Linked DNA regions of Homo sapiens: all the other regions are linked to region 1. Evidence: promoter capture Hi-C in 16 types of primary human blood cells and fetal thymus (Javierre and others, 2016). All regions are on one chromosome and are shown on one strand. Each heading gives the region's core, a stretch centred on a gene start or on the middle of the fragment in contact. The rest is flanking DNA. Distances are from core to core; before and after follow the strand shown. Region 1 holds the start of HIPK2 (homeodomain interacting protein kinase 2). Region 2 overlaps TBXAS1 (thromboxane A synthase 1). Region 3 overlaps HIPK2 (homeodomain interacting protein kinase 2). Region 4 overlaps HIPK2 (homeodomain interacting protein kinase 2). Region 5 overlaps TBXAS1 (thromboxane A synthase 1). Region 6 overlaps TBXAS1 (thromboxane A synthase 1). Region 7 overlaps TBXAS1 (thromboxane A synthase 1).

Evidence for each region. Contacts are between HindIII fragments. The CHiCAGO score rates a contact against its expected background, and 5 or more counts as called.
Region 2: a fragment that was not itself captured here is called in contact with the fragment with the promoter of HIPK2 in region 1 in 2 of 17 cell types (monocytes and M1 macrophages); the score reaches 6.0 in monocytes.
Region 3: a contact is called between a fragment that was not itself captured here and the fragment with the promoter of HIPK2 in region 1, in 5 of 17 cell types (endothelial precursors, M2 macrophages, megakaryocytes and 2 more). The highest score is 8.8, in endothelial precursors.
Region 4: a fragment that was not itself captured here is called in contact with the fragment with the promoter of HIPK2 in region 1 in 1 of 17 cell types (M2 macrophages); the score reaches 5.4 in M2 macrophages.
Region 5: a fragment that was not itself captured here is called in contact with the fragment with the promoter of HIPK2 in region 1 in 17 of 17 cell types (M1 macrophages, megakaryocytes, endothelial precursors and 14 more); the score reaches 33.1 in M1 macrophages.
Region 6: a fragment that was not itself captured here is called in contact with the fragment with the promoter of HIPK2 in region 1 in 9 of 17 cell types (monocytes, M0 macrophages, M2 macrophages and 6 more); the score reaches 19.1 in monocytes.
Region 7: a contact is called between a fragment that was not itself captured here and the fragment with the promoter of HIPK2 in region 1, in 7 of 17 cell types (monocytes, M1 macrophages, endothelial precursors and 4 more). The highest score is 13.1, in monocytes.

Annotation. Positions count from the first base shown.
Region 1 is chr7:139,776,748-139,780,822 of GRCh38, reverse strand. HIPK2 (homeodomain interacting protein kinase 2) reads left to right here and starts at 2,825. Exons shown (of 15, transcript NM_022740.5): 1 at 2,825-3,218. The coding sequence starts at 3,200. It also overlaps a transcript of TBXAS1 not described here. RefSeq lists silencers at 2,480-2,709, 3,140-3,229. The HindIII fragment of the contact is 7,054 bases long and covers 1,275-4,075 here.
Region 2 is chr7:140,018,371-140,021,918 of GRCh38, reverse strand. It overlaps TBXAS1 (thromboxane A synthase 1), which reads right to left. Exons shown (of 13, transcript NM_001061.7): 13 at 1,626-1,894. The coding sequence ends at 1,820. Among named protein-coding and RNA genes, the nearest start is that of PARP12, 43 kb to the left of the region's middle. The HindIII fragment of the contact is 837 bases long and covers 1,363-2,199 here.
Region 3 is chr7:139,607,946-139,611,758 of GRCh38, reverse strand. All of the region lies in intron 9 of HIPK2 (homeodomain interacting protein kinase 2), which reads left to right. The region is part of intron 2 of LOC105375530 (a long non-coding RNA gene); the gene reads right to left. Among named protein-coding and RNA genes, the nearest start is that of CLEC2L, 86 kb to the right of the region's middle. The HindIII fragment of the contact is 1,148 bases long and covers 1,367-2,514 here.
Region 4 is chr7:139,591,513-139,595,204 of GRCh38, reverse strand. All of the region lies in intron 12 of HIPK2 (homeodomain interacting protein kinase 2), which reads left to right. It overlaps LOC105375530 (a long non-coding RNA gene), which reads right to left. Exons shown (of 4, transcript XR_001745383.2): 2 at 2,860-2,978. Among named protein-coding and RNA genes, the nearest start is that of CLEC2L, 70 kb to the right of the region's middle. The HindIII fragment of the contact is 7,922 bases long and covers 1-3,692 here.
Region 5 is chr7:139,999,613-140,003,488 of GRCh38, reverse strand. All of the region lies in intron 9 of TBXAS1 (thromboxane A synthase 1), which reads right to left. Among named protein-coding and RNA genes, the nearest start is that of PARP12, 61 kb to the left of the region's middle. RefSeq lists an enhancer at 807-866. The HindIII fragment of the contact is 413 bases long and covers 2,221-2,633 here.
Region 6 is chr7:139,936,592-139,940,441 of GRCh38, reverse strand. All of the region lies in intron 5 of TBXAS1 (thromboxane A synthase 1), which reads right to left. LOC105375532 (a long non-coding RNA gene) reads right to left here. Exons shown (of 2, transcript XR_928043.3): 1 at 1-3,850. Among named protein-coding and RNA genes, the nearest start is that of TBXAS1, 110 kb to the right of the region's middle. RefSeq lists an enhancer at 1,786-2,286. The HindIII fragment of the contact is 2,847 bases long and covers 339-3,185 here.
Region 7 is chr7:139,957,378-139,961,226 of GRCh38, reverse strand. It overlaps TBXAS1 (thromboxane A synthase 1), which reads right to left. Exons shown (of 13, transcript NM_001061.7): 8 at 3,463-3,593. Among named protein-coding and RNA genes, the nearest start is that of PARP12, 100 kb to the left of the region's middle. RefSeq lists an enhancer at 3,831-3,849. The HindIII fragment of the contact is 2,222 bases long and covers 236-2,457 here.

The sequences.
Region 1 (4,075 bases), core at 1,576-4,075:
AGAAGACAAGAGTCAGCCATCTAGGGTGCGGGTATGCTGTGGACAACAGAGTGTGAGCAACAGGCAGGAAATGTTCTGTGAGCCTAAGGAAAGATGAGACAAAAGTCAGTGGGGCTGGTCAGAGGGAGGAGTTAGAATAATAATAACTTTTATTGAACCCCTACTATGTGTCTGCCCTCTATATAAAACTCTCTCTCTAATCTAACCCAGCCTCAGAGGCTGTGATGAGGACTATATGAAATGCCTTTTATCGAGTTTGTAGTGTTGTGCTGGACACAAGGGAGCATGCAACAAATTGCAGCTATCATCCATTCAACAAATATGTGTGCAGTACTCACCATGCGTTAGGCAATGCAGTTATTGGACATACAATCCAAAACAAGAAAAACATGGTTTCTGTCCTTACTGAGCTTACAGTCTAGAGACACCTTGTCCAAAATGGTAGCCACTAACCACCCATGGTTATTAAAATTAAAAATTCAGTTCCTCAGTCATACTAGCCACATTTCATGTGCTCCACAGACATAAGTAGCTACACTGCCATTATGGCAGCAAGTTCTAATGGCCAGCACTAGAAAGGGGCAGAGAGACATGCATGTAGGGTATGTATTAACAGGGAGTTACATACCTGTGTGGTGAAGGCTATGATAGAGATTTACAGATGCAAAAGGAGAACATTACTATTGTTCTCCTTCTCATAATCAAAATACAGACACTGAGGCTCAGAGAGGTTAAGCATTTTGACCAAGATCACATAGTTAAGTGGAAGAGCTAGGATTTGAACCTAGGTCTGACTTACTCCCACGCTATCTCGGGCTGTTTTGTGGAGGAGGTGAGCCAGGCACAGGTAGAATCTGCTTAAAGAGAGAAGATGGAGAAGGTACCCCTCTGGGAAAGTGGGTGGGAAAGTGACCGCTTGGGCAAAGGCACAGTGACAGAGATGGGTGAAGCTGGCACTGGGCTACAAGTAAACCAGTTTGGCTAGAGAAGCAGTGACTTGCTGAACTCATGTCCTTAGAAAGCTAAGTCAGGACTCGCCTGCCTTGATGAAAAGCCAAGGCACTCAGCCCCACCTGCAGAGGTTGAGTCCTTAGAGGATGTTAGCCAGGAGCGTGGCATGGCCAGAACCACGTATTATGAAGATGGCAATATTTAGGATGACCTGGGCCAAGACTAAAGTTAAAGATTGCAGGGAGGATAGAAGGGAAGGAGATAAATGACCGGTGTGGAGCAAAAAACACTAGAGTGGGAGCCACGAGACCTATTCCTAAGCTTCAATACTGTGTGACATTGGGCAACAGATTTTACTTCTCTGGACTCCATTTCTTCAACTCTAAAAGGGCAGGGCTGGCCCAGATGACCTCTGAGGTCCTTTTAGCAACAGTAGTCTAGGATTCTGCAAACGTGAATGGCATTAGGTTAAGAGAAGGGATAGGAAGTGTAGCATTGATTATGGGGGCAAGGAAGACCGCAGAGTACAAGATCACACAGAGGAAGGTGTCGTGATGTACCACTAAAAAAGTGTGAAAGAGCTTGCCTTTTTTGGGAAGGACTGAAGGATGGGAACGGAGGATGGAGACCGGAAAGGATAAGAAGTAGTGAGAAAATCACGAGGTTGTTTTTAAGAAAGTTATACAGTGTTAGAGATCATTATTTTACACAGATAGCTTTTCAACTTTTTTAAACCCACGATTCACAGACGGAAATAAAATTGACATCATGGTCCAGTACACTTGTCCAGTACCTATAATCGAAACAAAAGGTTTATGAAACAATAGTTGCCCTTACTAAGGGCAATGGACTCTAATATTTTCTATTGGATTCCATTTCGTTCTTTTTGAAAGCTGGTTGCCTTCCGCTGCATTTATTTTATGATCTATTACTGTGTCACGACCCACAGTTTTAAAAACAGTGCCTAAGAGGAGACTCAACAAGTCTTCCTAAGTTGGAGGGGATGGCAGGGCATCCTATCCAAGCATCCGGGAGGCAGCTGGAGAAGCAAACCTGGAGAGGCTCCCGGCTGGGGAGAGTCTGGAGAGTGTTTAGCGGAAGCCCTGATAGGAGAGAGCGCTGAGAAAAGCGAGGACCCAGAGAGTTGTGAGCTCCCATTCAAGTGATGGAGTGGCGGCCCTCGGGACAGTGTAGACGCGAGGAGGAGAAGATCAGGGTGGCGTGGAAGCCAGACTCCGGCAGGAACCCAGCGACCACCCCGGGGGCTGCATTTCCGCGGCGTGCACGGCAGGGCTTCGGTGCCTCTGACCTCGTGTGGCTTTCCGAAGCTCCTCCACTCACCCGCCCTCCTCCGGAGCACGGCGCGCGCCCACTCCTTCATTCATTCATTCCACTCCTACCTCCGCGAGCGCCAACCGGCTGTGAGATGGGCGAGCCACTTTGCCAGCGTGGGGCTCTCTTTCGGGTCGGTTCCCTCCCCGCCAGCACACGCGCGAACCCTCGCACCTGGGCACACACGCGCGCGCGTGCACACACACACACAAAGTTCTGGGGGCCCCTCTGCAGACCGGCTCGGCTGCGCTGGGCTCGGAGCCGTGCGCCCGCCGGGTCCAGGCCGGCCCTCTCACCCACTACCCGGGGCCCGCCCTGCGCCCAGTCCCCCCGCGCTGCGCGGCAGCCCCTCCCAGCGCGGTCCCCTCGGGCCGCCGGCGCGGCTCTGCCCTTCGGTTCGGCCTTCCCCGCCTCGCATCCGTGCCATCGGCGCTCGATTGCGCGCGGACTCCCTGTGGCTCTCCCGGCCCCGCGCCCCGCCCCCGCCCCCGCCCGCCGCCCCCCTCCGCCAGCAACTTTTGCGGAGCCCCCGCGCCCAGCCATGCTGAGCTGAGCCCCGCCGGCCCTGGCCGCGCGCTGCCCCCGGCTCCCGCCCCTCCGCGGATCCGCTCGGGGGCCGCGGCCGCTCGGCGCCTCGGCCTCGGCCGCTCCGCCCGCCCGGCCGCCCCGAGCCCCGAGCCCCGAGCCCCCCGCGCCGGGCCCGGGCGGCAGCGGCGGCGGCGGCGGCGGCGGCGCGCCCGGCCCCCTCCCCCGGCGCCGGCCACGGGAGGCGGTGATGCGGGCGCGGGCGGCCTCGGCTGCGCCGAGAGCGGAGACACAGGCTCAAGATGGCAGATTCCGACTGAGGCTGGGGGGGCCGAGCTCGCGCGCCGCTTTCCCGTCCCCGTTGCCATGAACCGCGGACACCCCGGCCCCGATGGCCCCCGTGTACGAAGGTAAGGGGCGCCCGGCCCCGCCGACCCCGCGCCCGCCGCCCTCCGCGGCCCCCGCAGCTTTGTTCTGCCCGCGGCCCCGCGCCCGCAGCCCCCGGCGCCTGCCCCAGCCCCCACCCGGGGCCCGAGGGGGCCGCGACCCCCTCCCTCGCCCGGAAGATGACCGGGACCCGGCGCCGGCAGGGTCTTGCTTCCAGGGCGGGGAGAGGGGCCGGGGGCGCAGGAGGGGAGGGGGCGTGTGCGAGGGTGGGCGGCTGCCCGGGGAGGGCAGGGACGCCGGGGAAGGCGGACCGGTGACTGTGCTTTTTATTTATTTGCGATAAATGAAGGTGATGCGGCTTAGCTTCCACCGCCCCCCCACATTACCTTTCGGAGCACCTCCTTTCCACTTCGCTCTCCGCCCCGCGCCCCTTCCCATTTCTTTCCGCGCCCACCCCACGCTCCTTTATTCTCCGCGAGCCTCCGATTTTGGGGGGGCTGTGGAATCGGAATGCACGGGGCTAGGTGGGGAGAGAGGAGAGAGATGAAAAGTCCATGTCAGAGCCAGGCAGAACAATGAAATAGGCGAAAATCTCCCCTCATTAGCGTGTGGAAGGGGACGTGGACTTTGGGTTTTCCAGCCGGGGGAGCGGCGGAGACGTTTTTCTGGCTCGGTCTGGGTCGATCTGTGTTGTGCACCTTCACCTGGCATCGGGGTATTTTTCCCCATTTGACTGCCTTTAGCAAGAAAGAAAAGAACGCAAGGCAGAAAAGCAGTAGGTCTGCCTCGCACACTGTCTTTCGTTTCTCTTCAGTCCGTTCTGTCAGCTTCCAGCCAGAAAGCAACCCAGAATCAACTAAGTTTTTACACTTCGATGTGT
Region 2 (3,548 bases), core at 532-3,031, 240 kb before region 1:
GGTGGTGACCAACTGAGCTGGGAAGGCGAGGGAAGCTGGATGGAGCTGACAGGCCGGGGGGCGGGGCCGGAGGTCCCAAGGGAGGACTCAGGTTGTGGGGCTGTGCTCCAAGCAGGGAGCTGAGTGCGCCATTGGGCCTGTCTGCAGGCTGAGGTTCTATGGTGGCGGCAGCCGTGGGGAGGTCAGGGATTGTGGGACAGGCAGGGAGGCCGACAGGTTCCCAGGGGTGGATGGTTTTCTCCAGTGAGTCTGAGTCCCAGGCTGGGCATTGCAGAGGGGCCAGGTGATGGAGAAGGGCAGGTGGTGGCAACAAGGGTGTGGGGAGGGCCACAGGACAGCCCTACACCTTGAGGCAGCAGTCACTCACAGGCCTGGCCCAGTGCTGGGCAGCTGGGGTGTCCTCTTCCTGCCTGGAGGGCCAGAGAATAAGAGAAGGGGCCCCCCAAGGGGGATTTTGAGGGATACAGTGGGTGCTCCTGGCTGAAGGGGATGGGGGACCACCAAACAGTGGAAGCAGCAGTCCCAGCAGTGAATATGTGGAAACTCATTCTGCCAACTCTCCCAAAATGGCCTGAAGTTTCTAAAGGTGGGTCGTCAGCATCTGGGTGTCACATAAGGGGCTTACAGATTTCTACAAGATCGTTCTCTATACAACATTCAACCTCTTAAAGCTGCTCAGGTGTCAACTAGAGGACAAGTGGTCTTTTGATCGAGGCCAGCCTCCTTATTTTACAGAAGAGGTCTCTGAGGCACAGGGAGGTGATACGGCTCTTCACCAGCAGCCATGAATGCGCAGCTGCTGGTGGCTGATCGTGAGACTGACCTTGCAAGTGCTTGGTTGAATGTGAACTGCTTAGCAACACAATACTTATTTTTACAAAAAAAATCACCTCTATATTTTGATTCTTTGATCAAAATTAATATACAGTGTTTTTTGTTTTGTTTTTGTTTTTTTTGAGATGGAGTCTCACTCTGTCACCCAGGCTGGCGTGCAGTGGCGCGATCTTGGCTCACTGCAACCTCCACCTCGCTGGTTCAAGCAATTCCCCTGCCTCAGCCTCCCAAGTACCTGGGATTGCAGGTGCCCGCCACCACAGCCTGGCTAATTTTTTTGTATTTTTAATAGATATGGGGTTTCACCATGTTGGCCAGACTGGTCTTGAACTCCTGACCTCAGGCAATCCACCTGCCTCAGCCTCCCAAAGTGCTGGGATTACAGGTGTGAGCCACCGTGCCCGGCCGATACAGTGTTCTTTAAAAGAAAAAGTATATCATTTTTCAGACTCTCATTTTTCTGTCGATTGAAACTTGACTGTAAAGTTGGTACTACCCTACCTAGGAAAATCAAAGCATAATAAAGCTTTGGAACCACTGCTGAGGTTGAACTTTCGATAAATGTCATTCTCTACAACTCCACAATGCACGAGAAGCTGAAAGAGCCACGAGCTAGTGCCATCAGGACAGGCTTACCTGGGGGTCCTCATGTGCCCTGCACCATGGATTCCTTTCAGCACAAGCCTGGGACTTCCTTTAAAACCCCACATTCTCAGTTGTTTTGTCAAAACTACATTTTCACTTATTTATCAGCAATTCTTCATTTAGAGAGAGCACTGGTTCAAACCCCATTGGCAATGTCAAAACCAAGTGCAACAAACGTTTATTAAGCATTTAGGAAATGTTATGTAAAGAACCTCTTATCCTTGCATGCCAGGCACTCTTTCAATCACTTCAGTGACATTTTTCCAAAATTCTGAACATCCACACTTAGGGTTTTCTTTGAATTTGGGGGTGCCCTCCCCCCACCCGGCAGCCTTCTGTGTCAGCGGGATACGATCTTGATATAGACACCATTTTTTGGACCTAGGGCAGATTTGGATTCTAGCTGCAGCGGTACCTAAAATAGAGAAAATTAAAATATTTGTCAAAGAGATAGTAGCATCTCACTGTACAAATGAAGACTTGGAGGTTCAAGAAGGCCAAGTCCGTTGTCCAAGGTCACACAAGAAGAAAGCAGAGAGCAAAGCCCCAAACCTATCTTTCAGTGACTCCAGCCGTCCCTGCTGATCCTCCCCATCTCACTCTCCAGTTCTGGCCAGTAACTGAGCAATGCCCTCTGGCCCAGGGGCTCTGGGGAAAGCAGCTTCATGCTGTTCCTGCTCATGTGTGCTGTGGTCTGGCCTCACTGACATCCAGAAAGCTTTCCTATGTCCAGCTTAAAAGGCAGAGCCAGTGGTGGACTGGGGACTTTGAAGAAAAACCAAAGAATTACTCGAGGAGTTGGGTTTCCTCTGGAGCTGAGTAAAATGATGAGCCAGTGGCTAATGTGACAGCAAAGAGTCACCAGGGTCTTAGTGCTTGGGGCTGTACGTGTCTCCTGTGGGAGCCATAGCCCTCAAAGGCATCTGAAAAAGCTGCAGGCCCCAGCACTTGTCTGAGCAGACAAGGAAGAACGGGGAGCCCTTGACTCCTGGCTGGTTCTTAAGCCGGGGAGTGCCAGGCATAAGCAGCGTTTTGGGAGACTGGTCTGGCTGCTGCACTGTATGTTGAGATCGTGGGGAAGTGAGACAAGCCCCGCACACGTGGAAGCCCCGATGCAGTGGGGCTGCTCCTCCGTCTGCCCCTTGACCTCACTTGGTTTGGCTCTGCTCTGCCGATCTGCCCCTCCCTGTCTCCAGCCCAGAGTATGTGGATGCGTTCACTTTCAGTATCTCAGACTCTATGTCCCCCATCCAAGCTCATTATTCCTCCAGGACCAGCAGCTGGTCCCAGGTTCTCTGTCAGAGGCACTGCCTGTCTCAATCTAGAATTGTTGCTATCTGTCAACTGTGTCCTTATGCCTTCCTATGCCTGCCTGTCCAGGTCTGCAGCTGAACAGTGGGTTCCGGGTGGCAGGACAAGCATGAGGATAGGTGCAGGGGACAGCAGTGGTCAGGATAGGCAGGGAATAGCTAACGCTGTGCAGAGACGTAGCCAGATGTCAGGAAGGAGGGAGAGCTTGGGAGTGGGCAGGATCTGGGTGAGGACCCCCGTTTCTCTCATCTCTGGCTGCTTATCCATTTGCTCATTAATGTTTGTTGAATGAATGAGTGAGCACCTGTCATGCGCCTGGCATTAAGCTAGATGCTGGAAAGTCCAACAATGAATATGACAGACTGGGTCCCTGCCATCACGAAGCCTGCAGTCCTGCTGTGTGGCCTTAGGCAAGTTATTTAACCTCTCTGAGCTTTGATTCCTCATCTAAAGAATGGGAATAGTCACTCCTACTCTGCAGGGTTGCTGTGAGTGTGAAAGCAGGGGATATAAGCTCCCTGACCTGTTGAGGAATTGGTCTGCTGGTTCTGGAGTGTGTGATGTGGGGGGGAGATAGGGCTGGAAAAGTGGGTGAGGCCCCATTTCAGGAGAGCTCAGCTCTCTGGGTGAGGACAGGGTCTGTGCACCAGTCTAGGACCTCAGGAATGAAGGCATATGTTGTTGGGAAGAGGCTGTGTCACCACCTGTGAGAGGGACCAGGCTGTGGCCATGGGGACACGTGAGTGTCTGCACAAGGG
Region 3 (3,813 bases), core at 691-3,190, 170 kb after region 1:
CAGCCTGGGCAACATAGTGAGACCCCATCTCTACAAAAAAAAATTAAAAATTAGCTGGGCATGGTGGCACATGCCTGCAGTCCCAGATACACAGGAGGCTGAGGCAAAAGGATCACTTGAGCCCAGGAGTTTGAAGCTGCAGTGAGCTATGATCACATCATTGCACTCCAGGGTGGGCAACAGGGTACGACCCTGTCTGTAAAGAAAAAAAAAAATTAATAGAAACACTTTATCATGTTTAAGTTTTGTAATGAATATTGAATTATATCAAATGTTCTTTCTGTATCTATTAAGACACTCATATGCTTTTTGTTCCTTAATCTACTAATGGGACAAGTTATATTAATATATTTTGTAATATTAAACTACCCTTTTATTTATGATATAAACTCCATTTGCTCATGTGCTTGATATGATATGCTTTTTAATATTGGATTCAGTTTGTAAGTACTATAGTTAGTATTTTTATATCTATGTTCATAGGTGAAAAATGGCATATAATTTCCCTTTTTATAAAATCCTTATCTGATTTGAGTACAAGGTTACACCAGGCTCATAAAATATCTTCTTCTTGTTGTTACCCACACGAGTGGGTTTGGTCACTTGACAGGTACCAACCCAATGACCACAGACAAGGATTTAGCAAGGGGATTGTATTACTTGTAACAAGTAAGGAGAACACTGGAGATAGTTCCCAAAGCAGTGTCTCTGAGCAAAGGGCTGGGTCAGGTTTTATAAGCATAGGGTAATGAGGCATGATCTGATTGGATCTTGCAACGAATTGATATCAGAGGCATGATCTGACTGGATCCTGCCATGCAGTGATGCCACAGCTCGATCTGATTGGATCCTGGATCCTGCCATGTGGTATCCATTTCTAAATTCCATTCACTCGCCTCAATCCAGGCACTTAGGTTCTGCCTGTTGTTACATACCTGGTTCATCTGGGCATGCTCAGGTTATGTGACCTTTAACCTGTGGATCCATGGCAAATGAAAAACAACTCACAACTTTGTTACATAAAAGTTGAACCAGACTGCTGTGGTTACATTATTATCTATTCTGTTTTCCGGAACAGTTTGTTTAAGATCGATATGAAGTATTCTTCATCTCTGTGCTTAGGTCCAGAATGACACTGTGCAGTTGACCACTAACACCAGTGACTGGTAGCACACAAAGTTTTGTCTTATTGAAAGTTTGTAAACAGAGAACTTTTTGTATTTAAAACAGGCCTTCTCTTCGTTCCTCTCTCTCCAATGGGTCCTTGTAGCTTCCTTTTATTTGCATAGTTCAGTAGCGGGGAGTTCAGAAAAGGCCAAGATAGATCAGAGAAAGAACTACAGCTCAGTCCAGGGGCAAAAAAGCTTCTTCATACTTTATCTGAGTGGCAAAAATCCACACCAGTCTCCCAGTGCTCCGCCTTTGTGAGCCCAAATCTACAGAACTCACGTGTGCTTTTAAAGGATAATTACAGATCTTTTTTATGTTTGCACACTTAACCCTAGTAAGCCAGGAGCCATCTCTGAAAGAAATAATAATTAGCATTTCTTATTAGCCAAAATAGGGATTCTTCGTTGTTCAGTTTGGTGGAACCAGTAGACTCAGCAGTCAGAATTTGTTTCAGTCCTTTAATCGTAGCAGGGGAGAACTTTACCTTTTGCTTCCTTGAAAGAGAGTCCCTAGAGTGTTGTAAATCTCCAAGTAGATTTAACCTAAAGCTGTAATTAGGAAAGTGAACAAAAAATACGTGTGTAAGGATTTTAATTGCTACTGTGTTTATAACTGAGATTGTTGGAAGAAACTTGAATGTTCGTCAGTAAGGGATTGGTTAAATAAGTTGATGCACACGTAAAATGGAACACCATGTAGCCATTAAAAGAACATGGTAGACCTTTGTGTCTTGACATGCAGAGATTTCTAAGATATATTAAGTGAAAAAAATCCTGCCCTATCCAGTATCGTGTTGTGTCTTTTTGTCAGTTGCTTTTTATTTTTCTCTCTGCTTGTCACTTAATCCATGCCAATATGTTAGCCTGTTGAGATGGGCTCTCTCCTAGATATTTTTAAACATTCCCTTCAAAGGACAAAAATAAGTTAATTTATAAAACTCTTATGGTGGCTATAAAAAAGCACAATTAAGCATTTAAACTGAAGGCTTCGTTTTTCTACAGTTAAATTTCTAGGCACCAGGCAGAGGCATTCCAAATCCTATTATTTGACATAAATGTATTCAAAAAGTTGACATTGTTCTTTTTCTCTAAATACTGAAAATCTTTTAAAGGATTTTACTTATGAACACTTAGAGATGGAGTCTTTGAATCCACTCCTCATGTTAATTTCATTTTCTTTGCCCTTTTCCTCCCCACCTCCCAGCAGCATCACATAAAACTTTCAGGGAAACAGGCCTCTGTGGGGCACCCAGAGGATGTGTGCATGGCAGGTGGAAATGGTAATCATTCTGCTTATGTTAGTGATATGGGAGTGATCTTTGTGGATCACCTTGCAACAAAAGCTTTTTTGGTACTGCCTAAAAGGAGCTGTCAACTCCATCCTCCCAAGCCCCATGCCACAGCTAGCATCTTGGCCACCAACAGAAATTGTGAATGAGTAGGTAATAGTGGAGAGATGGGAAGCACAGTTCTTGATTGAGACAGTATTGAATTTATCTGACTTGTCAAATGTCAGGATCTAAAATCTCCTTTGACTAGCAGGGTTAGAGAAATCACTGTAGACTCCACCCTTCCATGAAGTGTTTTGTGTTCTTCTAGCCAATCAAATCATATCACCTGAACCTCTTTATTTTTTACTTATTTACTTTATTTCTTGGGCTCATATTTGACCAACTGAGCCTTTAAATGTTTCCCTGAAAACAAACTGTTGGCTTGAACCCTTTAAACTGTTCGAAATACAAAATTTTAATGTTTCTCACTCAAAAGTTCCTCTGATAACATTTTCAGCAACCAGTCTTTCCAACCATTGTCCTGCTGTCTGCCTGTCTCTTGACTGGCACCTGATATTCTTAGAGAATAAGGAAGACTTGTTCATGCCACCTTTATGCAGTTACCACCAATGCCTGATCCTGAATAGGGGCCATTATTTTTGTGTATTATCAACACAAGGAGAGGTGTATATTGGCTGAAAGCATGGGCACTGGAATTAGGTTGCCCACATTCAGATGGCTGCCTCACCACTTACTGGCTATATGGCTTTGGGGAAGTTATTTTTGAAATTTAAATTTAATTCCTTTTCAAAGTAATACATGTACATAATTTTTAAAAGTTAATTAATACCATAAACTTATAGGAAAATTATAGTCCTCTGCTCTATCCCATCCTTAATGTCTCCTCCCCATAACAATATATATAGTTACATTATATATGTATATATGTATATATATACACATATATATTATCCCTGTTATATATATATTTTATATATATAATATATATTATCCCTAAAAGTTTTTATTTATACACACACACACACACACACACACACACACACACGTATTTTTTTGAGACATAGCCTTGCTCTGCCACCAGGCTGGAGTGCAGTGGTGCAATCTCAGCTCACTGTAACCTCCGCCTCCTGGGTTCAAGCAATTCTCGTGCCTCAGCCTCCCGAGTAGCTGGGATTACAGGCATGTGCCACCACGCCCCGGCTAATTTTTTTTTGTATTTTTAGTAGAGACTAGGTTTCAATGTGTTGGCCAGGCTGGTCTCAAACTCCTGGCATCAAGTGATCCACCCGCCTTGGCCTCCCAAAGTGCTGGGATTACAGGTGTGAGCCACTGTGCCCTGGCCATAACGATAA
Region 4 (3,692 bases), core at 463-2,962, 180 kb after region 1:
TTGCCCGGCCCTTTGCCACAAATGGAAAAAAGCAAAAGCAATTTAAAATCTGACAATCAGCTAGATTGGAATCTCATTCCTAACGTATGAGATCTGAGTTGACACAGACTCTCAACATCTGTGCCCAGGAGAGAATTGAATAGCGTGTCTGAGAAGGAGGATGAGAGAGCCGTCTCTCCACCAGTCAGAGAGCTGACAGGGCTGAGAGTGGAACGCAAAGCCAGAGCATGTCCGTGCCTCTGCGGCAGCCCCTAAGGCCCCCAGAAAGAAATGATAGAACCGAGAGGCTGGGCAGCAGATGAGGACCTTCATGGGAACAACTCAAAGAAACCTGGGAGAGAGAGCCAGGTGCACAGGTGAGGGGCAGCCACAGACAGACAGTAGCAGTGGCTACTGAGTCCCACAGCATCCTGCAGTGAAGAGTGGCGGGGACTGCCAGCCTGCCAGGGTCGTGAAAATGTGCCGGACACATGAGGCTGAATAGGGAAGCTGCAGACTGAGGCTAGGGAGTCATCCAAAAGGCTTCAGCTGTCCACAGTTGTGACTGGGAGCTCCCAGAATAATGTTTTCTAGAGAGATCTAATGGCAAGTGCCTTAGAAAATGTCTTTGCACTCAAGAAGGTAGGAAAGTGTATTTGAGTCTGAGTAGGATAAAACAGAAACCAGTAGCTGTTTTATTTATAGAGAAACCACTGTGTAACTGTGATCACATTATTGTGACTACATTTTGGGATCAGAAAAAAAAAATGTGGGGAAATATGATTACTTGTTCTTAGAAGTCAGAATTATCATAAAATTTAACACAGTCAGTATTTATTGGCCCCACTAGTGTAAGATATTATGCTGGGAACTGCAGGTGTTACATAAATAAGGTAGACAGTTTGTGTCCTCATGAGGTTTGCAGGGTAATAAACAAGACGAAACACATACAAATCATTATAACACAAAACACAGTGTCAGTCCCATAAAAATGAGCAAAGTACCATGGGAACTCAAAGGGAAAATAGCTTAAGGGAATAGCAGGGGAGGGGGGCTTTGAAGGCCAAAGGTCTGGACAGGTCCACACAGTAGAGGAGGTGCGGTTGCAAATTCAAGTGAGGTGATTGATGGGGCAGAGCCTCCAAGGCAAGCGAACAGGATCAAGACCCCTGTGCAGGAGCTTATCCAAAAGGGGCTTCAGGATGGAAAGGGGGTTGGGGAGGGATCTCCCCTTACATGGGGGTGGTCAGCTTTGTCAGGAGATACTGAGGGGCTCAAGGGGAAGCATCAGTCCTGGGAAAACAAGGATGCACCCCCAAGTGCAGCCACATGGAGGGGTCACCTGGTCCCTCTCCAGCTGAAGAGCTTCCCCAGCCCTTCTGTGTCCCAGCTGGAGCGATGGAGACCTTCCCTCCTACACATTGATCATCCTTGTTCTCGAGCCTGATTTCTCCATGCTGTGGGCATGTTGATTCCCACCTTCTGTGTTCCCAGCCTCGTTTTCTATTTGCTACTTACCCCAGTGCCAGTCCTGTAACTTTGCCTAAAATGCTGGTTAATTCCCCTAACATGGCTCAGCCTCAGCTTGGCAGCCAGAGTCAGGCAGCCGATGACCTTCAGAGGGATGGCAGTGCCTCCACCACCAAAGGGGCTTTTAGACCTGATTGAGGGTGTCACTAAACCTCTAGGACTAGATGATATAGCCTAGAATTTTTAAAAGAAAGCCAATGCAAAATCATTATTCCTGACCCCACGTATGTGGCACTGTTGGTTGCACAGCAGATGGCTGGCCAGCAGCTCCACTCGTAAGAACTCCAGGGCATGTTGGAGGCAGATGCTGGGAGACACTGAGCTAAAGACAGGAGAATCATAGCAAACATGCACTGGGTGTTCCACCCGCACTAGCTCCTCCATCATTTGATGGGGCATGCAAGGCTGATATTTCTATTCCCATTTGATAGATGAAGAAACTGAGGCTCAGGAAAGGTAGGTGACTCACCCAAATTGATACAGGTTCTAAATAGCAGAATTGGGACTCAGGTGCCATGCTCTTGAAGAAATGTCAAACTTAATAACTGGCAAAAATAACTGATTTCAGTCATTCATTCAATGAATACAGATTCTATCCTGCTCCCTCCTGTGACTACCACTATGCCACTGTGTGCAGGTCACCATGCCAGGGCCATAGGGAGTCTAGAGTATTGTCCACTGAGCCCCCTCTTGGTGCTGGGCGTTTGTCAGAGTGCTGGAGCCATGGCACTGAGAAGGGCGGAGTCAGCTCTTTTTAAAGTAAGAAGGGCAGGGAAGAGCCAGGGAACTCCTTTTCAGTGAATTACTGTTGGACTAGGGGACTCTGGTCATGGCTAGAGAATTGGCCAAAAGATAAGACAAACAGATATTGTTCTGGGTCCCCCAGGATTAAGTAGTAGAACTGGTCTTCTTTTAAATATTTATAGACAATTTCGATTAGAAAAGCATTTAATTGTCTACACATACTGAACAAGCCATCTTTTCTCTCCTGGACTCTCTTGATCCACGTCTCCTGATCCAGACCCCCCTGCTATCTTTACCTTGTGTTGAAATGGTCTTGTAAAGGCTGTAGCATACAACCTTTAGTCATGAGGGTAATTTCTTTTTTTATTTTTGTAAGAACTAGAGACAGTGTCTCACTATGTTGCCCAGGCTGGTCTTGAACTCCCAGGCTCAAGCAGTTCTCCTGCCTTGGCCTCCCAAAGTGCTGGGATTACAGGTGTGAGCCTCCATGCCTGGCCGAGAGTAATTTTTTAAGTGTGTAAACCAAAGTGGTTCACATCAACTGATCATATAGAAATGATTTTGTCCAGCTCCATTATTCATTCACGCATTCACTCATTCAGTTACCTGGATATTTCTGGTAGGTGGGTTGTTCTGCTTAGGTCATCAAGTGTCTCCTGCAGGCTGCACTTCACTGTGCCTGTGTAAGCAGCCACTGTTTCAGCCGACGTTACCAAAAATGAAAACTTTAAGAAAATTGATTCATAAATATCATTCAGTATTTTAGATATAAAAACAGTTACTTAGCTCACTCTTAACATGTTTATATATAAAAAAAATTTGACCCGAAATGTTTTCCTTGTTTATACTAAGTTGAAAGTCTAGAGAAATCATTATAGATAAAGCAAGGTTAGAAAACTGATAAACTGCAGCTCAAATTACTTTGGCCTGAAAAATTAACATCCACTTAACAGAGGGAGCAAAAACCACACACACTCATTTATTATTGCATGGGCAAAAAGCCCAAAGTGGGATTAGCCTCCATTGCTACCTATAACCATGTAGCTTGCTCCATCCTGCCATTGGTTGAGAAGCTGCTACAGCCAGCCTCCTGCCATGCTCATGGAGACGTGGGAATCAGGCTTGAGTGAAGGAACAAAGGAACCCAGACACACAGTGCCATTTGAAGGAACTTTGGTGTCTCTCCATTTTGAGTACAATACATCCCCAGTTGAAAAATATTTCAGTCATGTGACTCATCTCAAGAGGTGATGGTAGGATCTTTTGTCCAGCTGACTTCGCCACACCCTCTTTACAGGGCTCCATTTAAGACACTCCAGTGGGCTGAGTAGAGTGGCTCAGGGGTGTATTTTGAAGAAGAGACACTTCACCCTACTGTCCCCAGCTGCTGTCACATTACAAAGCTGTCACTGATATGCCACAGCTTCCTGGTTTGCTCC
Region 5 (3,876 bases), core at 1,178-3,677, 220 kb before region 1:
TCACGCCTGTAATCCCAGCACTTTGGGAGGCCGAGGTGGGTGGATCACCTGAGGTGAGGAGTTCAAGACCAGCCTGGCCAACATGATGAAACCCTGTCTCTACTAAAAGTACAAAAAATTAGCTGGGCATGGTGGTGGGTGCCTGTAACCCCAGCCACCCTGGAGGCTGAGGCAGGAGAATCGCTTGAACCGGGAGGTGGAGGTTGCAGTGAGCTGAGATCACAGCCTAGGCATCAAGAGCAAAACTCCATCTCAAACAAACAGACAAACAAACAAAAAGATACGTATGTAAAGACCATCTTGGTTCAGCAGTTCTCCATGTGGCTGCATGTTAGAAACAGCCAGCTTTTTTTTTTTTTTTTTTGAGACGGAGTTTCGCTCTTGTTGCCCAGGCTGGAGTACAATGGCCCGGTCTCGGCTCACTGCAACCTCTGCCTCCTGGGTTCAAGCAATTCTTCTGCCTCAGCCTCCCGAGTAGCTGGGATTACAGGCACCCACCACCACGCCCGGCTAATTTTTGTATTTTCAGTAGAGATGAGGTTTCACCGTGTTGGTCAGGCTGGTCTCGAACTCCTGACCTCAGGCAATCCGCCTGCCTCGGCCTCCCAAAGTGCTGGGATTACAGGTGTGAGCCACCGCGCCCAGCCAGAAACAGCCAGATTTTTATATGTTTTAGTATAGATGGATGCTTGGGCCCTACTCCCCAGTGTTGGTCTGAGGTGGGGCCTGGGCACCAGCTCTCCCTTTTTAGCCCCCTGGCTGTCCTAATGTGCACTCAGGGGCATAGGTCTTTCCGACTGTCTGTCTGAGACCTACCCTAGCGCTTCTCCACACCTGAGGAATGAACGGATGAGGCAGAAGGACGCACACACCTCCATGTCTTAGTCGAACCAGCGAGACAACAAAACTCAAGTCCCTATCCCACTCACTGGCTGGTCCACCCAGCAGTTGCTGGCTTTGTCTGCAGCTTTCAGGAATAGCAGGGACAGAACGGTCCTGAGCAAATTCTGCCAGCAGAGGGCAACAAGCGCATGCTAAATGAGGACTCCCCGTCCCGGGAAAGGACCTTGGAAATCCTCCCAGCCATCCTTCCTTGACAGAGAGGAGAAAAATGAGGCCCAGAGAGGAAGGCCTGTGAACCCAAAGTCTCAACATAGAATTTATTATAAGTCCTCTTTCATTCAGCAGTTCCTCAGCGGGCACCTTGGATGGGTCAGGTGCGGGACCAGGTGCTGGGGGTCCAAGGAGGCTCTGTCCATTGAGGAAACCGATTCCTAAACAAATCATGACATGGATGTGTAAAGTGTTATCGAATGTGCTTACGAGGAATGCAAAACCAGTTCTGTTTAGGAGATCCTTCATTTACATATTCAAGGAATACATATGGAATTGGCGAGCATGATTCACCAGGCACTGTGCTAGGCCCGGGAGACGTAACTTTAAAATGCACGGACATGTCCTAGCCTCTCGGAGCTTCCAGTCTATCAGGATGCAAACAAGTGGATAAGGGTGAGATGGGAGAACAGATGAGAGACACACATCTCCCACATTTGGGATCAGGGACTCTGTGAGGAGGAAGCGACAATGTCCAGGCTGAGATTTTTAGGATGAGTGAGAATAAGCCAGTGAAAAGTGGATGGCCTTGTTCAGAGGCTGCTGCAACCAACCTAAAACAAATATGAATCAATCAGGGAACTGTGAATCCAACAGGATATTTGATGCTCTCAAGGAATGAACATTCATTTTGGTTTTAGTTGATAATGGTATTGTGGTCATGTTTAGAAAAGAATTCTTATCGGCCAGTCACGGTGGCTCACGCCCATAATCTCAGCACTTTGGGAGGCCAAGGCAGGGGGTGTCACTTGAGGCCAGGAGTTCGAGACCAACCTGGGCAACATGGTGAAATCCCATCTCTACTCAAAATAGAAAAATAGCCAGGTATGGTGGTGGGCGCCTGTAATCCCAGCTACTTGGGAGGCTGAGGCAGGAAAATTGCTCGAGCCTGGGAGGTAGAGGTTGCGGTGAGCCGAGATAGTGCCACTGCACTACAGCCTGGGTGACAGGCCCTTGGCACACCTGGTCCTCTGTCAGTACATCCAGGCACCAACGTTACCAACAGCTAGTGAGGGTGCTGTGGGTCTGCTGGGCCTGGAGTGTCTCAAAAATGTGGGGGACTGAGCAGAATATTCTCTTATTTCAAGCCAGGAAGCACCTGAAGCTTCTATGTTTCCAAAAGATAACATGAAAAGCCATCCCCCAGGGTTCTCTCTGCCTCCTGTTTCAAAGGCCAAATTACTGAGAATTAGAGCTGGGGGGAAATCTCAAAATCAACCTTTGCTGTCCACACCCAATGAGGAAGCCCCCCCTGCAGCGCCTCCCCTTGACCTTGGCCTGGCTTTGGGTCCCACAAGGGAGGCAAAGGGCAGGGTTCTGTTCCGGGTCTGTAACCCTTAGCCATGGCCTTGGGCCAGTCGTCAGGACAGTATCTACAGGACCCCTCGTCTGTAATGCTGTCCCACCCATCTTGCAGAGTAGAGTGAACAAGAAGATGAAGGTGGAAGTCTTTGGCAACTGGAAAGTACCTCCTAAGCAGGTGATATTTCTGTTTGAACACATTCAGTGGCGGGAAAGCTTATTTCAACATGAGGCGCTCTGCTCTCTCTATTGAACTAGGCTAATAGGATGTGTTAAGGGAGAAAGAAATTCTAAAATCCTATCAAATTCATTTCAGCTGGGACTTATTTTATAAAATAACTGCTCTTAGAGGGTTGAAAATTAAATATTGGGAAACATGGAAATAAAATAAACAGAATCTTTACCTAGTGATTTACATTCTCAAACCAGAGTTTCTTCATTTTGGGGGAGACTTTTTCATATGTAGTTGATTTTCAATGGGCAGTAACTTCTAATTTTATTCCTAAGATTCTTGGTCTCTTAGTCTTTCCATCATATAGTTTAGGATCTAGAAACCAATATGTGTTTGTTTATTTTCTTGCTCTGTGGCCCAGGCTACAGTGCAGTGGTGCTGTCATAGCTCACTGCAGCCTTGAACTCCTGGGCTCAAGCGATCCTCCTGCCTCAGCCGCCAGAGTAACTGGGACTACAGGTGCAAGCCACCATGCCTGTCTAATTGTTTTTTGTTTGTTTGTAGAGATGCGGGGACATCTCACTATGTTGCCCAGGCTTGTGTTGAACTCCTGGACTCCAGTGATCCTCCAGTCTCAGCCTCCTAAAGTACTGGGATCACAGGCATGAGCCACTCTGCCTGGCCCAATATTTAAATACATTTAAATACAATAGATTAACCTGATGGTTTAGGGAACTAACTCTATGGGCAATCTATCGATAAATCCTTTTATGTAGGAAATAACAGTACTGCCCTCTCCTATTAATCTCTTTTCTATATTTATCATTTTGTGTATCATTTTCTCTGAAAGCTAGACACACACACACAGTCACACACCTACACATACGCCACACACTGGGTGTGTGTGCAGATGTCATCTGGAGTATAAATGAGAAAAAGAAAATAAAAATGTCATTGCTTTCACAAAGATTTTTCCTGGAGATTCACGGACCTAATAGAAAAATTATCATTTTTCTATGTTGTTAAAGGAAATAGAAGCAGAGGTGGCTTCAGTTTTCTTCTTCAGAGCAGTAGGAACAGCAGCATCTGTAGTAGTTATGCCTACCCAGCTGTCACTAGACTTGGTCTTATACTAAGAAGTAGGCCAAGTGATGCTGGCCCTTGCCCTCTAGAAGCCGGAGCTGGAAATCCCTTAAGCACGAGGACAGCTTGGGGCAATACAGCCATATGAAGAATAAAGATTTCCATTCACTCTGATTCTCCAGGGACCGTGGGACTATAATATGAAA
Region 6 (3,850 bases), core at 513-3,012, 160 kb before region 1:
TGAGGTGGCTGAAATTATGTATTTTTAACAAGGGTCCTAGGTGATTCTCATGCAGCCCTTGGTCCCACAAGGTTTGAGAACCAGTGACTTAGAGAACAAAGGCAGCTGGGAGATTAAAGTTTGAGGAAGCATCCAGAAACCAGGAGGTTTTGGGGAGGAATATAGGACACTTCTCATTTTGTCCCCTCCACCCATCTTCCACAGCCCAGAAGCAGCCCCCCTGTCATTTCCTGCATCCTGTCTACACCATGGCTTAGAGCCTCAAACCCTCTGCTCTTCATATGCAAAGGGGAGCTGCTTTTGGAATTAGGAAAACTCTTTCCTCTCCTAATAAAGCTTGCTAACGTACAGTTCAAAATCAAGCAACTACTTCCTTGTTCTGGATGGCACCTACTGTCTTCCTCAGAGGCACCTTCAGGAGCACCCACTGGTGCCATTGATTCCGCGGGTGCGGGAAAATTACAGGGAACACGATCTATGGAGCATGAAACAGACATACATTGGTTTCACGTTTCAGAAATATTATCTTTGCTGTGCACTTTTTCGTCCTCGTGTTTCTTTCCATGTGAGCAGCATTTAACACCTCTGGCTGCTCCTTCCTCTTTGAAATGCTTTCCCCTTCCACATTCTGCTGGTTTCCATTTCAGGCTGTTCTTCCTGAGTCTTCTTTATAGGTTTCTCCTCCGCTCCTCCCTTAAATATGGTTCTCCCCAGAACCATATCTAACACATATGCTACACGTCTCTGTGTTTTGAAGACCATCTTTCTTCCCCCTCCCACCTGAGTGCCATCTGCACAGCCAACTTCTTCTTGAAGGGTCTCCTTAGGGGCCTTCCAGTAAACTTCAACTCGCCAGGTCTAAAATCCCCAGAGGTGGGGAAAAAGTTAACTTCTCCTGCCTCTGGGATGGAATCCTTTCAAACGCAAACCCAAGAACCTAAATTGAACTATATGGAGTAGAAAAAAATGCCTTTCAAGGGAATTTCAAGGTTATTGATAGTGTATGGTAAATAATGGGCTCTATGAAATCTCTCTCTACCTCTTGGCTTTTTTTTTTTTTTTTTTTTTTTTGAGATGGAGTCTGGAGTCTTACTCTGTCACCAAGGCTAGAGTGCAGTGGTATGATCTTGGCTTACTGCAACCTCTGCCTCCTGGATTCAAGCGATTCTCCTGCCTCAGGGTCCTGAGTAGCTGGGGTTACAGGTGCCTGCCACCACACTGGCTACTTTTTGTATTCTTAGTAGAGACAGGGTTTCACCATGTTGATCAAGCTGGTCTTGAACTCCTGACCTCAGGTGATCCACCCGCTTCGGCCTCCCAAAGTGCTGGGATTACAGGCGTGAGCCACCTTGCCTGGCTTCTCTTGGCATCTTAATGCCGTGGACATATTGAGGAACTCTATTTTCTGCAATTAATTCAGGCACTATGCATTTGATTTCTGGACTAGAGGGAGAAGACTGGACTCCAGGAGCACTGGATTTGCTTGGGAAACGACAATGTGTCACTTTCTGGAGTATCCCCTGTAAGGGGTTAAAGGAATCTAGACCATGATAAAATTCCTTATCAAAGAATCATAGCCCAGGACTGCTAAACCTTATTTTCCTTTCCTTGCTTCCTTTTCTTCTTTCTCTTTTCTTCTTTTCTCAGATACTCTTTACCAATTTCTTTTTCACACATGAGGTTCTTTCTACTTCTATAGTGCCATGAAGCCATTGCTTTTGAATACAGACATATACGCTAGTGATGCCAGCCCTAGGCTCACCTACCTCTCCTCTCTTCCCCCGGTCTTCTCTTGGCTGACTCAACCTTTTAGTGGCTGGATGTGATAAAGGGGCACACTCCAGGCAGCTAGTCTACATGGTTTAGAGCAGTGGTTTCTAGCTTTAAGATGCAGGCCCTTCCTTCACATTCTCCTGTGAATCCTCAATAGATAACAGAGATCAATGTGAGCAGGGCTAATTGTTGCAGTGGAAGCAGGTGCCCCTTTCCTCTCATGTCCTTGTGGGGAACTTCTACTGGTGGTGGTTCCCAATACTGGCTTTACGTGACAATCACCTGGGGAGCCTGAAAAAAATATCCTCAAACCCAGGCTGCATCCCAAAGCAAACCAAGCGAATGAGAATTTCTAGGTGTGGGACCCAGGCAGCAACAGTTTTCAAAGCCCCCCAAGTGATCCCGGTGGGCCCCACTGGCCAACCGCTGCATCTAAGTCACTCTCCATCTCCTGCTGTCTACACTGTATCAGACCCAGTCTTGGAGGAAGGAATTGAGCACATGTGGGCCGCGGGCCAGCCCCGATGGCATCTGCCACCCCCCTGCAATTGTCCCATTCTGGGTGAAGTATTAGCATAGCAAGCCCATGTGATCAGATGGGGACTCTATTTTTCAAACAGCTTTACCAGTAAGATAAGAGAAAATTTTATTTCCTTTGCCTAAAACCTCTTTCCATACCTCAGTTGGTTCCAAACTTAGGCAGAAAATAGAGAAGTTTTGCTTCTGACCCTCCCCCACCCCCCAGCTTTCCACCGAGGCCCCATTTGCTACACTTCCCCTTCCTGCATCCTCCAGACAGCCCCTGGCACAGTCCTACGTGGCCTCCGAGCACCACTGGAAAATCACATGGAGGTAGCAAGCAGTCAGGCAGAGAGGTGAAGAGCGCTCCGGAGCTGGATTCTGATTTTGGCTCTGCTGCTTACTAGCTATGAGACTTGGAGCACGCTACTTAATCTCTCCGTGCCTAGTTTCCTCCTCTGTAAAATGGGATGGTAATAATAAGGATGATGGTATTTATCTCGCAGGAATGTGGTGAAGAGGCAGTGTGTTAGTCTAAACAGGCAACCCTTGGTACCTGACTCTGAGCTGTGTGAGTGTGAGCAGGTGCTGCATACAGAGACAGGCTCTGCCCCCAAACACCAACAGCTACCCATGGAAATGCAAATCAAAACCTCATAAAAATGGGGGGATCACTAGCTTCTGAGTGAGTTTAATTGGATATAATGAGGTGTGGAACCCCCTCCTCTTCTGGGGGACTTCAGAAGATTTATAGGAATTCAATCAGGACCATATGGATGAGCATCTTGAGCTTAAGCTAAAAGTAGCTTTCATTTTTATTGAACTGAAGACAGGCTACTCTGGAACATCCAGACAGGGTGGATGGCAGAAGCCCAGGGCACTCAAGCCAAGCTTTGGAAGCTCCCTTGCTCTAGAGATGCCTGTGTACCTGAGACTGGAACTAAAGAAGCCCCTTAGCCCCTTCACATCATAAGGGCTCAAGTTCTCTCTCCCTTGTGGTTGCACAATTCAGAACAGCAAACACCAAAGCCAGACCAGCAATTGAGGGGGCTGTCAGGCTTAGATACAAAACACAGCAGTCAGGATCTGTTGTGTGAGAAATTGGTCTGGAGGCTGTACAAACACCCGGTTTTGGGTGCACAGCTGATAGGAAAGAGTGAGTCACTCAGTAGGGAAAGGAGAGTGTCCAGGGCCTTAGAGAGCTGGTAGCATCCTGTGGAGCCTGCCCTTCCCTTGAACTTGGCCTAGAGGTTAACCTGGGTGTCCCTGCCTGACATGATCGCCCACTCCTCCCCAGTCATTCACTGCAATCACCTCCCTATTTAAGACTTGATTGGTAGGTCACCTTTGTTTCATGCTGTTCTCTAGTTTCTTGCTATGTAAAGTGTGGTTCATTGTCCAGTAACAACGAAATTACCTGGCCGGGTGTTATAAATGCAGATTCTTAGGCCACCCTGGCCCTCTTGAATCAGAGCCTGCTTTGTAGCCAGATCCCTAGGTGATCCATTATGCATGACAGTCCAACAGACACTGTTGCAGTTGTCTCCTGGGGCCCCCA
Region 7 (3,849 bases), core at 97-2,596, 180 kb before region 1:
CGCCTGTCTTCAAAGTCTCCAGGCTTTGCCTTCTTCATCCCCTAGCCTTCATATCAGATCTTCACATCGGTTCCCTCTATTTCTCAGTAATCCCCTGCCCCCGTTTAAGTAGTCAGAGCTTTTTTTCCATTTCCCCCTACCTTCTTTATCAGTCATTTGCATATTCTTTATATTTTCACTATTACTAATTGTAACAATAGGAGTGTTTCTATATCGCCTCTGTGTTAACAAAGCTTATTCCTAGAACATCCCTTCTTTGAAATGCTCTTTAATGTCATGAAGGACAACCAAGACATTTCCATTTTCTGAAGTTTATGGGACTAAAATGGCAAAAGGAGAGTATCAGAATCACCAACAGAAAAATATTAGAATTTCATGCAAAGTACTCTGCTAGCTGCAGCATTTTCTCAGTTCACTGGCTTCTGAATTTCGATTGCATTAATAATCTATGCCACACACATGAGCGTCTGATTTCATCTTTTTTTTTTTTTTTTGCTCTGTCACCCAGGCTGGAGTACAATGGTGTGATCTTGGCTCACTGCAACCTCCACCTCCCAGGTTCAAGTGATCTTCCTGCCTCAGCCTCCTGAGTAGCTGGGACTATAGGCATGTGCCACCACACCCGGCTAATTTTTGTATCTTTAGTAGAGGCGGGGTTTCACCATGTTGGTCAGGCTGGTCTCGAACTCCTGACTTCAGGTGATCCGCCCGCCTCAGCCTCCTGATGATTCCATCTTTTAAGATTGTTGTCATTTCATGTGTGGTTGCTTTTCCTCCTCCATAAGATTATAAGCAACTCCAGGGCAGGACCCCACCCTCAACCCCTGACACCGTGCCTAGTTTTATGCTGAGCACATGTTAAATCTGCAGTCCATGACTCAACAGATAAAAATGTAATGCAGTGCGTGCATTTGGAGGATGGGTATGCTGAGTTTGATGACAAGTGAATGCTCTTTAGAGCGGGAGTCTTGGCTGCTGACACCTTTGCAGCTCTACTGCACCCCAGCCTTGTGACTTTGGAAGGTGCCTACTGGGATCCTAGCAGTGCTCAAGGTTAAGACTATGGGTGCCACAGACCTTGAGTCTAAGGAAGCAAGGCCTCAGCTTCCCAACAGCCTGCTGGGTTGTAATAGCTGAGAAAATGGTGAGGGTCGGGGGTAGTTGGTGGCTTCATTCCACCCTGGCCCTGCTCGTTCTGATTTTCAAACAGCATCCTCAAGGGCTGGCTTTCCCCAGCTTCCTTCCTGCTGCTCGGTCAATGGGCGCTGGTGTGGTCCCACTGCTGGCCCTGCTCCCATGGAGCAGAGCTGGGGCAGGGTCAGGCAAGATGGCACGCAGGGGAAGTGAGCATCCCTTGCTCCCTCAGCTCTGGGACACCAGCACAGGACCCCAGAGCACCCCCAGACCTCTCAGTCAGTCCCTCTGAAGGTCCTCAGGGTGTGATATCATTGTGGTCCCTGAGGCTTGGCTATGGCTTTGCTGAGGTAGTGTAGGAGTAATGATGGGAGGGAGGGCACAGCCACCTCTACACCGGGTATTTTTCCATGGGCAAAACTGCAGCCAGCATCCTTTCCTCTTATCCCAGCCCAGACAGACTGCTAAAGGGCTGTCAGAATCTTGCAGAAATCTGTCTTAACCTCCAGCTACAGAGGCCAGAGGAAAGGCCACTCTCCAGGGCCCGTGCACTGGAGAAGAACATTAGTATAGATGGGTTTCTTTTATTCACATGGCATCAGGGAGGCTATCTGAACACTGCCCATTGAGGACTGAAACGGTGCTGGTTTATGGTCCTATCCAAGGAAAATACGCACCCTGATAGATGTAGGTGTCTAATCCACCCATCGGCTAGAGCTTAGAAAAATATTTACCTTTTAACATCTGTGCCGCATTTTCACTGCGCAAACACACATCTGCTTGATGGAATGTATACAGACTTTAGATGGTTTTAAAGCAAGTTTTCTTAGTAACCGTATAGCTCTGTCTTGACATGGCTGTCCTGGATTTGTGGTTGGGAGATTTTTCTCAGATCAACTCATTGTTTGAAACAAATAGCACTAGAGTTTATAAAAGGAAAAGCTCTAGGCAATCCCAGTAATTGGATCTTTAATAACCTCTCACCTCTTAGTAAGTCATTCGATGCAACAGTTTTAAAATTTTTAGCCTGATTCCACAGCCAGGCTAGGGATGCGTGTGTGTGTGTGTGTGTGTGTGTGTGTGTGAACACTCTCAAAAGGTGGCCCTTAGTAGCAATGTTGAGGGTTGAAAATGGTTCTTTCTTTATCCCTTCTCCCCCTGGCTCCAGCCTCACTCTGCGGAGAAACATGAACCTGGATCAGAATGTTCTGTCCTTTTAGGCTTCAGAGCTGGGGCAGGGATGCCAGTTAGCTGCTTCTTCCCGCACCTCCAAGGACATGCGAGTTGAGTTCACAGTGGTGTGGGCCGAGGGGGCTGCAAGCTTGCCTACACCTTCCCATGCCTTCTGGATCTAGACACGTTTGCTGCACAGTTCTCCGGGCGTGAAGCTGCACAGGACGCGGCTGCTGCCCAAGGCCGCTCGGTGTATCAAGCCACTAATTGACCCCTGATTTCATTTCAGGCCAGTGCCTTAACAATTGGCCCTCACCAATTCCTCTGAGCCATCCAGTCTTTGAGACAACCCTTTTAAAGTTGCATCTTGCACGAGCCAGCTAAGGAAAGGCCATTTCAGCCCTGTTTTCCTTTTTAGTAACTTTCTTTAATGTGACAAGGGCTTTAAAGCCCAGATTTACATATGCATATGCATATCCAGTATTGAAATGACCTTTCTTCCCACTGAAAACTCCTCTTTCTATTTTAGCCAAGTTCAATCAACAAATATTTACTTGATTCCTACTATGTGCCAAGCATAGTGCAAATCTGCAAGGAGGAAAGAAAATGCTACGTCTCATATGAATCGTGCCAAGGAGTCCAGGGGGCCCTCAACCACGAGTTCTGTAGCGACATCCTCCATGCTGAGTGGGAGTGTGGGGTTAGTGACTGACAGTTGCCGAACTCTCTAATAAGCATGCTGTTCATGCTGGAGAACTCCATCTTGCTGGGTTTTCAATATAAAGAATATGCTCATGAAAATTGCATGTGGGCACACTTACCCAGAAAATTCTTCTGGGCTATTCTAACCTGTGCTTGGGTTGATGCTTGCACTAGGGAGACAGTTTTGGGGGCGGCTTTAATTCTACCCGTCCGTGTCCGAGGATGTACACATTGCTGTAGGCTTCTCTCTGCCGTCCCACCCTCCCTTTCTTGTCTGACCTTCCTCAACCTTCCTCTGTTCTCTCCACTGTCCCTGGAAGCTGTAAGTGGTGGGTTGCTGAAGGACGGCACGGTGTGATGTGCGGGGCTGAGAGGGAAGAGAAAGAGCAGAGACAGTGATGCCAAAGTCGGCTCCATTCCATTTCAAGGCTGTGTCCTATTAAAATACGTTACCTCTTCGGCAGCTTGCTGGTCCCGCAAGGCAATCACATTCCTAATGAGTTTGTTAAAAAAGCCATTCAGTTCGTCTCGGTTCTTATTGGGCAAAATCCGGGCCAGTGGGACCATTATGGATGGAAATGATACTTGAAAGAGAAAAACAAAAGTGGCATTGAAAAGGGGGTGATAATAAACCAGGGCCATTAGACGCCTGTTCCCGGGAAGCAAACGCGGGCCTGGAATCGGAGCCGTTTTGGAGTCCTGCCCTCCCCGCCGCACTGCTGCTTCTGAGAGCAGGGGTGATGTCTCACTCCCTCTCGGTACTCCTCACCATTCCTGGCACATAGTAAGCACTCAATAAACATCTGTGCAATTAATCGAGTCTGCACTTCCATCTGGCCC